Regions from separate parts of the Homo sapiens genome. Here regions 1, 3 and 4 are each linked to region 2. Evidence: promoter capture Hi-C in 16 types of primary human blood cells and fetal thymus (Javierre and others, 2016). All regions are on one chromosome and are shown on one strand. Each heading gives the region's core, a stretch centred on a gene start or on the middle of the fragment in contact. The rest is flanking DNA. Distances are from core to core; before and after follow the strand shown.

Region 1 (3,133 bases), core at 587-3,086, 420 kb before region 2:
GACTTTGGCAGATTGAGAAATTTATATTTGAGGTGATAGCTGTTATAAAGCCTTGAGTAGAATAACTATATTTGTTGAGAGCAGATAGGATTAAAGATAGAAAAGCTGACTAGGAGACTATGGCATTTATTCAGGAAAGGATGGACACTGAGAAAACTTATTGTGGGAGAAAACTGGGAAGAGGACTTGCTTACTGAATATAAGAGAAGGAAGGGTCAAAACAGAATTGTGGGTTCTGTAGACTAAGAAAATGGTGATGGGGTCGGGTGTGGTGGCTCACGCCTGTAATCCCAGCACTTTGGGAGGCAAAGGTGGGTGGATCCCCTGAGGTCAGAAGTTCAAGACCAGCCTAGTCAACATGGTGAAACCCCGTCTCTATAAATATACAAAAATTAGCCGGGCATGGTGGTGGGCACCTGTAATCTCAGCTACTCAGGAGGCTGAGGCAGGAGAATTGCTTGAACCCAGGAAGCAGAGGTTGCAGTGAGCCGAGATTGGGCCATTGTGCTCCAGCCTGGGCAACAAGAGTGAAAGTTCGTTCAAAAAAAAAAAAAAAAAAAAAGAAAAGAAAAGAAAATGGTGATGGGGATAAGGAAATTGGGAAGAAGCAGTGATTTTGGAGATAAAGGAAATGTGATTTTTATTTTAGAAATGTTACAGCAGGTGGTAGAGCATCTAAAGGGAATTGACTTTTGGATGCATGGAGAAATGACACCAGAATTCATATAAGAAGTAAAGGTAGAGAGATTTGGGAGCCACCTGAATAGAGGTCAAAGTTGAAACCTCAAAGTATATATACATTTTTTTAAAATACATTAATAAGAAAGCAGAGGACCAAGCATGAACATAGAAGGTAGGGATTTATTGAAAGTTGTAAAAGGGAGAGGACAAAGAAAGATATAAAAAAACCAAGATAGTGGTGTAATGAGAGCAAGGGAAGATATATTTTAAGCTTAATGTTTCTCAACATCAATTTGGATATGACCAGAAGGATGCCAAAGGCAATCCTAAAGTGTGTTTTGAAGGTTTAATGGTTCATAGGTTAAAAATGTTTATACACTGAGGAAAATATCCCCTGCCCCCTCAATTTGTTTGCCTTACGGTTTAGTTATGGATGATTTGGGCTAGAGGAAAATAATTGAGCTAGCTATGCTCCAGTTCTTTCCCTTCTTTTGGTGTGAATATGAGGAATTCCAAGTAAAAATAATTATTAGGTAATATTAATGTCTCTATTATACTGTATTGTATGGTGCAATATCTCTGTTATACTGACATGGGGCTTTCTTTATTCCCAAAGACAAATATAATTTCATCTCATGTCTCCCTTCAGCAAGATTTTAATTCTTCCTAATGATGAATACTTGAATACAAATAAATTTCTGGCCCCTTATTTTTCTACTGAACTCGGGAGATGGAGATGCCTCAGGAATATTTATTTGAATGAATTTAATGCATGTTTTCCTGTGTATTTACAGATGGGACACGAGTGGGTTTGGCTGGATTCTGAACAAGATCATCCCAATGACTCTGAGTTGAGCAATGACTGCAGGTCCCTCTTCAGCTCATGGGACTCCAGTCTGGATCTTGATGTGGGCAACTGGAGGGAAACTGAGGATCCAGAGGCTGAGGAACTAGAGGAAAGCAGCCCGGAGAGAGAACCTAGTGAACTGCTTGTTGGGGATGGAGGCAGTGAGGAATCTCAGGAAGCGGCAAGGAAAGCCAGCCACCAGAACCTCCTCCACTTTCTCTCTGAGGTAACAGTGAGCTCTTATTTCCAAAGCTGGAAAAGCCTCAACTTTCTAAGAGAATGCTTATCCTTACATGCTTCTACCACTCTTAATATTGTTTACTAAAATATAAGCTCCACAGTGGCAGGGATTAAGTTCATTGCTATGTCCTCAGCACTTGGTGCTGATACAGAATATGCACCAAATACATGCTTTTTGGGCCGGGTGCAGTGGCTCACGCCTGTAATCCCAGCACTTTGGGAGGCTGAGGCCAGTGGATCACTTGAGGTTGGGAGTTCGAGACCAGCCTGGCCAACATGGTGAAACCCCATCTCTACTAAAAATACAAAAATGGCCGGGCGCAGTGGCTCATGCCTGTAATCCCAGCACTTTAGGAGGCCGAGGCGGGCGGATCACTTGAGGTCAGGAGTTCAAGACCAGCCTGGCCAACATGGTGAAACCCCATCTCTACTAAAAATACAAAAAATTAGCCGGGCGTGGTGGCGGGCGCCTGTAATCCCAGCTGCTCGGGAGGCTGAGGCAGGAGAATCACTTGAACCTGAGAGGCGGAGGTTGCAGTGAGCTGAGATCACACCATTGCACTCCAGCCTGGGCGACAGAGCGAAACTCTGTCTCTAAATAAATAAATTAATTAAAATTAAAATTAAAATTAAAAAATTAGCCGGGCTTGGTGGCATGTGCCTGTAATCCCAGCTACCTGGGAGGCTGAGGCAGGAGAATCGCTTGAACCCGGGAGGCGGAAGTTGCAGTGAGCTGAGATCGTGCCATTGGACTCCAGCCTAGGTAACAGAGCGAGACTCCGTCTCAAAAGTAAAAAAATTAAAAATAAAAAAATACATGCTTTTTGACTGAATTTCTAATACTTCAGTCATTAGGGGCCTGGGTCATAAGGACTGCTTTATGAGTATCCTTGTAATTCATGCTTTTGGAGTTGTGGGAAGTTATACTTGCCCAAATTTTCCTTGAAGCTTAAAATGCTGTAACTTTAAGGTAGTATTTTTAAGTGTCATTACCTTGGTTAAGGGCTGAGGACCAGAAATAAACAGAATTGGACAGAGAGTTATATGTATGCTGTTATTGAACACATTTAGAAGACCCTAGATCAAGATCAGCAAGCATCCATTTCAAATGTTGCCACTTCTCTCTACAAGTGTCTGTGGTAGACAAAATTTTCAACACTTTATTCTAGACAGCCACTCCCAATTGATCAGAGTTGACAGCTGAGATGAAAAAGTAGAACATAAACTCCTGGAAGAGGCAAGAACCATATCTTTCTTGTTCACTGTAGTGTCCCCACCAACCAGCCCAGTGCCTGTGTATATAAGATATTTTGGCAGATTTTAGATGATTGTATTAATTAAACCATTTTGTCCTCTCAGACTTAG
Region 2 (3,144 bases), core at 81-2,580:
CTTCCTTCTGTGGTTTTAGGGCTTTGTAGTAGTGAAGAAATTTAACAGGTTAAAATGATAAGGATGATAGATTTACTGAGCGTCTCTTCGTACTTTCACCTACATCATGTTATCCTCCTTGAAGCCCCCTACAACACATTGGAGCCTAGTATTTCTTCTTAAACAATCACACGGATTACTCTGAGAAGAAAAACGGACCATTTAAAACATTTTTAGAATCCTGTGATCTTGGAGCTGAAAGGGACTCTAAAGATTGTCTGGTCTGACCCTATATTGTGAATGAGTAGCTGAGCATGAGGTCCAGAGTGTGGAGAACACTACTCAGGAAAGTCACTCACCCAGTGAGTGCTGGTGTGGATTCGGAAAAGCCCAGGGGTGCCATGAGGTGTCCCAGAAGAGAGATGCTCATAGCTGATTTTTTTCTGAGGCATTAGGATAGCTTCTGCACCACTTTTTGCAGCTAATTGTCCCAGTTACCTCTAAGCCTCTGTGGCTAGGATATACAGACTGGCCTCATGCCTTCCACAAGATTATGTTTTAGTTTGGGAAAGAAGATTTATAAATAATGAATTAGCCAAGACTGTATATTAGGTGTGAGATGACGATACAGGAAAGTATAGTTTGTGTATTTTGGTGGTGATTGACTGTCATTGGTGTGATTAGGGAAGGTTTTATGAAGACATGGGATTTGACTGGACTCCCAGAAAGACTAAAGGACTGGGATTGGAGAAGGCATTTCAGGCAGGGAGAGTTAAATTAGTCTAAATTGAAGCTCAGCAGCTGGAGATTACAGGATGTGAAAGATCTTTGGCTGGATATGGGGGTTCAGTGGGAGACTTACTAGTTGGAGCCACTGCTTAAGTTAAATTCCAATATGACAGATTTTAGGAAGATATTTTAGGATTGTGCTAAGATATTTTAGTATTCATTGTGATAGCTTTACTGCAGTAGTCTTTGGCCTCTTGCAGTAAAATAGGGTTTGTTTCAGTTTCACCTATTTGTACTACCTCTCTTTTTCGACTAGTTTTCCAATTTCTCTCTGTATTCTCTTAATTTCTCTCTGTGTTTTTCTCACTTCTGTCAGGTGCTTTTCCCTTAACTTCTCCCCATCTATCAGACACTCAGAGCTACTACAGAATTTGGGAGGAGGATTTGGAACATAAACTGTGACCTACAAGTGAATTTCCCCAGGTGGATGATAAACTCCACTGCAGGCCACAGAGGGGCCTCCTCATTCCAGCAATCTGGCCAGGCTGACAGACTCATAGCCTATGGGAGCAGGGGAGGGTGTAGGGGCCAGTATTTCTCGGGCTAGTGACGAACTGCCTGATTCTTTGCAGCCTAGACAGAGGAGGCAGGAGCCCCAGGGGCGGGCTAATCGCCTGGGCTGGGGATGCCTGGGCAGATGCAGAGGAAGCTGGAAAGGTGGCAGTGCACCTGGGTCGCTGGAGCTGCCGCCGTTCCTAGGAGACCAAGGAGCAGCAAGCCTGCGGGGGAGGGGGAGCAAGTGGGTTGCTGCTTTTAGCAGCTGAAAGGGCTGCAGGGAGCTCTGGGTAAGACATTTTCTGTTGCTGCTGCTTTTGCGGTAGAAGCTGCTGCGAGTAAGTCAGAGGAAGGAGGATTGAGAAGGGAGGAGGCTTCACTTGCAGCCATGCTGAATCACTGTTGCTGATCAGATTTCCCACTGGTCTGCTGGGAGAATCAAGAACAGAACTAGGATCCCCGAGTGCATACACAGTTCAGCAGCTACCACCCTGGCTGGGCCTCACACAATGGAGGGTGAAAGGTATGTATGTATAAGTGTGTGCTGTGTTGTGTGTGTATGTAAGTGTATGTGTGCTTGCGGTGCAGCCACCAGCTTTTGTGTTTGCATTGGCTAGGCAGAGTTGGAAGACCTGGCCACTGATGGATCTTAAAGGGCGCCAGAACAAGAGCAGGAAAGCCGCTTTCCAAATCACCCGTTCCAGGGCTTGAATCTCCAGAGATCTGGCTTCCGCAAAGGCAGGTCTGGGTTTGCTAGGCAGCGGAGCACCCTGAAAGAAGGGACTTCCTGGCTGGTGTTCGGGAATAGTTTCAGCACAGGCTGAATCAGATTGCCTTTCTCAGGCTGTTTCAAGGAGGCGTTTCCCTTTCCTGGCTCCTTTCCCGGGGTGTTTTTTCTTTGGTGGGGGGTTTTTGATGTCATAGTGGGGCTGACCTGACATAGTGTACTTGCATTTTCACGCAGGAGTGCTTGAATCTTCAGCAAGCATGCCATGCTGATGGCTGTGTGTGTGCGCGCGTGCACGCCGTGTATGCCTGTATACACACACATTCAGGGATGAAGGAGAGAAACCCAGTCAGATGATACTTGCTCTGAACTGAGTTTCATATTTGTATTGAAAAGTTTATGAGTGATACTGGAAGGTCTGTGCTTCCTCCATCAGGGATTTCTTTTGAAATAGGAACCAGCAGAAAAGATTTTAAGTACTTTTGTTGAGCTGGATCTAACTAGCGAGGCAGTTAGATCCTGGCAGGCACACACATCTAAATTTTTAAATTGTTATCTGAAGATCTGAATCTTTCATTGTGAAGGTGCTCAGCGCAGTGCAGAGGTGACATTCCTCTGTCTATGAAGTAAAATATCTCTTGAGTGCCAACCTCTTCATTCTTTGGTCTGCAGTTGGTAGAGTACGAGGCTTGCCATTTTATCTGAGGAGAGAAGACTGCAGGGAGGGGTCCGGCCATGGCAGTGCACCACTGAGGGGAAGCCTGCTGCTCCAGATTGCCAGTTTGATGCAGACAGTAACCATCTGGTTAACAATAATAGGCTCAACTAAGTCAACACTAGAGAGTATCTCAATGAACACTTTCCTTTTCATGAGTTGTTGTGACTTCTGTGTCTCACGGGGCACAGTGATGCCATTAAACATCTCTAGACCCTATTAGAACTAGCATGATGATTGGGTGTCATTCTTTTGTCTGTAGAGGCCCTGGGAACTGTGTTTCTTGATGACTCCCACAGGAAGAGCCTGGGACTGACTGTGCTGCTGGTGCATTCTCTTTCTGGGTGCTCTTTGCAACAGGAGTTTAGTGTTGAACTCTGTGAGGCCTGCTGAGCAGCAGAATATGAAGGCCTATTTCCTAAGTGTGGGGCAGAGGTGA
Region 3 (3,321 bases), core at 596-3,095, 310 kb before region 2:
CAAGGTAAACACAGGTCAATAATTTATTCTTATTTATTATTTATTTTTTGAGACAGGGTCTCTCTCTGTCATCCAGGGTGGAGTGCAGTGGCACAATCATGGATCACTGCAGCTTTGACCTGGCCTCAAGCAATCCTCCCACCTCAGCCTCCTGAGTAGCTGGGACTACAAGTGTGTTACCATGCCTGGCTAATTTTTAATTTTATTTTTTATAGAGACAGGGTCTCACTATGGTGCTCAGGCTGGTCTCCAATTCCTGGCCTCAAGTGATTCTTGCTGGCCTGGTCAATTTCTTCTTTTGTTGTTGTTCTTTTTTATTTGAGATGGAGTCTGGCTCTGTTGCCCAGGCTGGGATGAAGTGGCACGATCTCAGCTCACTGTAACCTCCACTTCCTGGGTTCGAGTGATTCTTCTGCCTCAGCCTCCCGAGTAGCTGGGACTACAGGCATGCGCCACCACACCCGGCTACTTTTTGTATTTTTAGTAGAAACAGGGTTTCACCATGTTAGCCAGGCTGGTCTTGAACTCCTGGCTTCAGGTGGTCCACCCTCCTCAGCCTCCCAAAGTGCTGGGATTATAGGCATGACCCACCGCGCCTGGCCCCTGGTCAATTTAATACAAAGCAAACACCCATGTAACCACCACAGCTCATATCAAGAATAAGAGCATTCTTATTTTTGTGTCTCCACGAACTCTTGCCCCTCGTTCCCAGAAGAACCAGAACCAGTATCATGATGTCTATGATAGTCACTTCCTGGCTTTTTTTTTTTTTCTTTTAAGTTTTTCCCCTAATTTGTATCCCTAAACATGATGATTTAGTTTTGCTTTTTTTGGGAAACACTGTTATATTTAATTTCAATTAAAGAAAAAACTTAAAAACTTAAGGAGCTAGTTTTTATTTTTAAACTTTTTGAAATATAAAATACATATGGAGAAGTATACAGATCATGAGTACAGCTCACTGAATTGTCCCTAGGTGAACATATATGTGCAACTTCCCCCTAGGTTAAGAAATGGAATATCTTCTCATGACCCCTCCTTATTATTGATTTCTTCCTTCCTCAAAAAGACTTCCCTCCTTAACCACAATTCTGACTTCTAAAATGATAGTTTAGTTTTCCCTGCTTTTGAACTGTTTTTAACGGATTCATACAGTATTTGTTTGTGTCTGGCTTCTTTCATTTATTTTTGTGATTCATCACATTGTTGTTTGTAGCTGTAGTTTGTTCATTTTCATTGTTTACATGGTATGAAGATACCATACTGTATTAATCATTCATCATTCTATCATTGCTATCTACCTGAGCTTGAGTTTCCATTTTTTTCACCAATATAAAAAATGCAGCTATGAACTTCAGGGTCTTCCCCTGTTGTGCAGGCTGGAGTGCAGTGGTGCAGTCATAGTTCACTGTAACCTTGAACTTCCGGGCTCAAAAAATCCTCCTGCCTCAGCCTCCTGACTAGCTGGGATTACAGGTGCAAACCACTGTGCCTGGCTATTAATATTTTTTTTTTTTTTGAGACAGGGTCTTGCTCTGCCACCCAGGCTGGAGTGCGGTGGTGCTTACTGCAGGCTTGAATTACCAGGTTCAGGTGATTCTCCTGTCTCAGTACCACCCCCCACCCCCAATTTTTTTTTTTGAGATGGGGTCTTGCTATGTTGCCCAGGCTGGTTTCAAACTCCTGGCCTTAAGCAATCCTCCTGCCTTGGCCTCCCAAAGTGCTGGGATTATGGGTGTGAACCACCATGCCCAGCTCTTTGACTTTTAATTAGGAATTAATATATTTACACTGATTGTAATTACTCATATTTGAATTTATTTCTGCTATCTAATGTTTTACTATTTGTCCTCCTTAAACATTTTTTATCCATTTTTAAAATTAAGATCTTCCTATTTTATTTTATCCCCCTAATAAACTGGAAGTTATATATACTGTTTAATTTCTTGTACTGATTATGTAGAAATTTTAACATGTATATTTAACTCAACAAATTATAGACTTATTTAGCCTCCTCTTAAACAATACAAAGCCTTCTAATACTTTAATTTACCCTCTCACAATAGTATATGTTAAATTATTGAACAATAGTAGAATTTAGATATTGTTGCCATTATTTTGGATAGTGTTTAGATTTACAGCAAACATGCAAACAATTTTCTTTGTTCACCATTACTTCTCGCATTTTGGATCTTCCTTCTGGAAGATGGTAATTTTCTCTTAACATTTTGAAGATACGCTGCAGTATCATTTGGCTTCTATTGTTACTATTGAAAGGTCAGCTGTCAGCCAAATTATCTTTTCTTTGAAGATTAGTGTCTTTTCTTTTCTTTTTTTTTTTTTTTTTTGAGATGGAGTCTTGCTCTGTTGCCTAGGCTGGAGTGCAGTGGCGCAATCTCAGCTCACTGCAACCTCTGCCTCCCAGGTTCAAGTGATTCTCCTGCCTTAGCCTCTCGAGTAGCTGGGATTACAGGCGTGTGCCACCACACCCAGCTAATTTTTGTAATTTTAGTAGAGGCAGGGTTTTGCCATGTTGGTCAGGCTGGTCTCGAACTCCTGACCTCAGGCAATCTGCTCATGTTGGCCTCCCAGAGTGCTGGGATTACAGGCGTGAGCCACTGTGCCCGGCCTAATGTCTTTTCTTGCTGCCTAATTTTAAGATCCCCTTTCTCTCTGGGTACTAAATTTTATGTGTGCATTTTATACTTTTCAGCATGGCAAGTTTTGGTCTTCCAGAATTTAGGATATTTACCTTCAATTCTGGAAAATGTTCAGCCACTATTTCTTTGAATATTGTCTTCCCTCCATTCTATTATCTCCTTCTTTTTTGTTTGTTTTGTTTTTGAGACGGTGTCTACGTCGCCCAGGCTGGAGTGCAGTGGCGCGATCTCGGCTCACGGTAATCTCCGCCTCCCAGATTCAAGCAATTCTCCTGCCTCAGCCTCCTGAGTAGCTGGGATCACAGGCATGCACCACCATGCCGAGCTAATTTTTTTTAATATTTTTAGTAGAGACAGCGTTTCACCATATTGGCCAGGCTGGTCTGGAATTCCTGACCTTGTGATCGGCCCGCCTCGGCCTCCCAAAGTGCTGGGATTACAGGCTTGAGCCACCGTGCCCGGCCTTTTTTTTTTTTTTTTTTTTTTTTTGAGACAGAGTCTTGCTCTGTCGCCAGGCTGAAGTGCAGTGGTGCAATCTCGGCTCACTGCAACCTCTGCCTCCTGGGTTCAAATGATTCTCCTGCCTCAGCCTCCCCAGTAGCTGGGATTACAGGCATGCGCCACTACGCCTAGCTAACTTTGTATTTTTAGTAGAGATGGG
Region 4 (3,202 bases), core at 515-3,014, 280 kb before region 2:
AAGTCCAAAACATAGGAAAAACTAGAAATTCTTTTTAATGTTTTAGTGTGATTTTTACTTAAATTCATATACTTAGAAATGACAGTTGCCCAGCCTAGAACAAGTTTTAGTGGGGGTGATAGGAATATTTTTAATGGATATAAGGGGTGGGATAAAATAGAATATCCCTTAGAACAGAGATAGTATGTTTCTAGATGTATAATTTGAAGGTTTTTAGACAAGTCAGGGGAGCCAAGAAAGGCTTTCCAAAAGTATGAGTATTTTAAGTTAATTGGAGAATGAATATATATGGTCAAGCAGTTGACATTGCAGCTTATTGAATGATTGCCTTGAACTAACGTAGGAGGTCTGGAGCAACAAGGACTTTTTCAAGTCAATGGAAATGCTGAGACAGTGGAGTGGCTTCGGCAGAGATACGACAGCGGAGAAGAGGTGGATTTGGTTAAGGAAGCAGATGTTCCCTCAGCTATTAGCCTTCTTAGATTTTTTCTTCAAGAACTTCCTGAACCTGTTATCCCTGGCAGTTTACATATTCACTTGATGCAGCTTTCTCAAGGTAACATAATTTGATACTTATCAATTGGTCATTTGTTGTTAATTTCCTAGTCTTTACCTTTTAGAAATCTTGACATGTAAACAGTAAGTATAGTATTTTAGAGATTAATTTGTTATTTTCTCATTTGCTTTTTGGGGTTGTATGATCTTGTCATAGGAAAGGCAACTTCCGGGATCCCTCTAGTACTATTTACTTTTTGTGATTGGTTTTATTAGCCTAAGAAACAGGGTGAAGAAGAGGAAAGGGAGGAGACAAGAACAAGGAGTAGGAGGGGTCATCAAAAAGAAAGAAGAGAAATTTATGTAAGGTAATGTGTGTGGTGGCACAATGTCCAATAGTAGCCAAAGGTGTTGCTTAGTGGTGATATTACCACTATTAGGGTTACTTATCCCTGGTTTGATAGAATTTCCTAGCAAAAGGAAGAAGACAACTTTGATTCTAGGCTTTGAATATACCTAAAACTTGTTCTTGAACACTTAGCTAAAGGAAATGAATATCAAATTGAACATTAGACTCTAAGCTAAAGAAACAAAAAAAGATGTATCTTTGTTAGGTTTTTTTGGTGGTGACTAAAAAGTAGTGCTTAGCTAGAGTGGAACAGGAACAGGAAAAATAATGGTAGAGGCAGCAGAAAGGTCAAAGAACCAAGAAGTGAGGAAATGCTTCTGTTCCTAGAGCCAAATGGTATTCATGTATATGTAATGGAGGGACATGCTTCATTATATAGGAAAATGTGTAAAGTTGGCATATAGAGTTATATATTTCTTGAATTTTAAAATTACCCTTTCAGGCTTTTTTGGTATTATGGAGTTCATTTATTTTTTGAATCGGGGCTTCTAAAGAAATTCAGTTATGCTAAGAAATTATAACTACTTCCTTTATGCCTATCTCTATCACAGCTGGGCATTCTATAATATGTGTGTATATATCCTTAAGTATTATGTTGTCAGAGAAGGTATATTTTCTTTCGAAAGTGTTTATCCGTCTTTTTCTTAAATTTTAAACTGTGAGCCTAAGTTAGTTGGATGTCTTTGATTTATGTATAAAGGTCAATGCAAAGACGTTCTGTGACCCTCTTACACATGTTTTCTGTACAGCTAAATCATAAGGCTTACTTTGAACTTGCTATATTCAGGAAGGGGTAACCTGATTCAGTTCTGTTCTTTTACTCTATAATCTGGATCAAAAAACAGGTTTTAAAACGAAATGTTATTAGTAAGGCTACCCTTTTTTCAATGCATCACTTTAATTTTTCTCCCCCCAAAATTACGCTTTTTTGTTTTGAATTTTTGAATCCATTTTATTATTACAGGAATTTTTTCAAATGTTTATGTTGAGACACATAATAAGCATTTTGCATTTATTAAATATGAACCGAAACCAATATGGTAAAGGTTTTTTGAGCCTTTTAAAATAACTCTAGAGCCATTCTCTTTATAGTGATAGGTTTCCATGTTCCCTCTGTTAGCTGAATTGCAGACACATATTTAAAGTTCCAAGAGTCAGATAATCTTTCAGTCCTGAATGAAAATTTATAAATTAATAATTGCAGTGAGATTTAATGGAAGCAAAGTCATTGACTCACTGGTAGAATCTATCAGAAGCTATTTATTTTTCACTAGGATTGTCATTTCAGTTGGTTTTCATTTATTCGTTGTTGTTGTTTTTTTGAAATGTCCTTGCTCTGTCGCCCAGGCTGGAGTGCAGTGGTGTGATCCTAGTTCACTACAGTCTTGATCTCCAGGGCTCAAGTGATCCTCTCGCCTCAGCCTCTTGAGTAGCTGGGACTACAGGCGCGCACCACCATGCCTGGCTAATTTTTTAAAATTTTTTATGTTTTGTAGAGACAAGATCTTGCTATGTTGCCCAAGCAGGTCTTGAACTCCTGAGCTCAAGTGATCCTCCTGTCTCAGTTTCCCAAACTGTCTCAGTTTCCCAAAGCACTGGGATTATAGGAGTGAGCCATTGTACCTGGCCTGGTTTTCATTTAAAATTATGACAGCATCATGTACTGTTGGGACAACTAAGTTCCTCTTCAAAGACACAACTTTCTGGTCATAAATTGTAAACCAATCCTACCCCTTCTTTTCTTTCAAAAATTGCGCATTTACCCTATTTGAAAAAGTTTCAGTCTTAGCCATGGCCTGGTTTTCATTTAAAATTATGACAGCACCATGTACTGTGTTGATATTCATGGAATTACAATACGCATCTTGTTACTTATTCTTATGCTAACATTCACTTGTGAAGGAATTTAAGATATGCAAAAATTTGCAAAAGAGATGTGCAAAAAAAAGCAAAAATGCTTATGGTCAATAAGTGCTTTCATGTTTAATATGAGAAATTCACTGTTTTCTTCTATTTTCCACTTATACATAGATAATCATTAGCATGTGTATGTATGTGTGCACATATACACCCGTTTCTTTAATAGCTGTGCAGCTAGGTATGGTAGTATTTGGGGTGATATTTGCATTTATGTTGTAATATCATCTGATCATTCATTCATTTAGTTATTTTGGGAAGGTGTCTAGATCTCTGAACAAAGTTTCCTCTCTTCATTTACTGTAGATAATTTTGTTTGTTTCTTTTATTCTTTGAGACAGAGTCTTGCTCTGTCACCCAGGCTGGAGTGCAGTGGGACCA

The links. The method cuts DNA at HindIII sites, captures the fragments that hold promoters and counts their contacts. A CHiCAGO score of 5 or more calls a contact.
Region 1: a contact is called between a fragment that was not itself captured here and the fragment with the promoter of KLHL3 in region 2, in 1 of 17 cell types (naive B cells). The highest score is 6.4, in naive B cells.
Region 3: a fragment that was not itself captured here is called in contact with the fragment with the promoter of KLHL3 in region 2 in 5 of 17 cell types (naive CD8 T cells, activated CD4 T cells, non-activated CD4 T cells and 2 more); the score reaches 7.5 in naive CD8 T cells.
Region 4: a contact is called between a fragment that was not itself captured here and the fragment with the promoter of KLHL3 in region 2, in 1 of 17 cell types (non-activated CD4 T cells). The highest score is 5.1, in non-activated CD4 T cells.

Annotation. Positions count from the first base shown.
Region 1 is chr5:138,151,103-138,154,235 of GRCh38, reverse strand. BRD8 (bromodomain containing 8) reads left to right here. Exons shown (of 27, transcript NM_139199.2): 21 at 1,476-1,754. Among named protein-coding and RNA genes, the nearest start is that of NME5, 13 kb to the right of the region's middle. The HindIII fragment of the contact is 1,764 bases long and covers 955-2,718 here.
Region 2 is chr5:137,734,275-137,737,418 of GRCh38, reverse strand. KLHL3 (kelch like family member 3) reads left to right here and starts at 1,330. Exons shown (of 15, transcript NM_017415.3): 1 at 1,330-1,786. The coding sequence starts at 1,773. RefSeq lists enhancers at 1,063-1,731, 3,063-3,132. The HindIII fragment of the contact is 9,233 bases long and covers 1-3,144 here.
Region 3 is chr5:138,040,091-138,043,411 of GRCh38, reverse strand. It overlaps a transcript of FAM13B not described here. Among named protein-coding and RNA genes, the nearest start is that of FAM13B, 8.7 kb to the right of the region's middle. The HindIII fragment of the contact is 5,363 bases long and covers 1-3,321 here.
Region 4 is chr5:138,015,656-138,018,857 of GRCh38, reverse strand. It overlaps FAM13B (family with sequence similarity 13 member B), which reads left to right. Exons shown (of 24, transcript NM_001385994.1): 4 at 344-556. Among named protein-coding and RNA genes, the nearest start is that of FAM13B-AS1, 16 kb to the left of the region's middle. The HindIII fragment of the contact is 4,772 bases long and covers 1-3,202 here.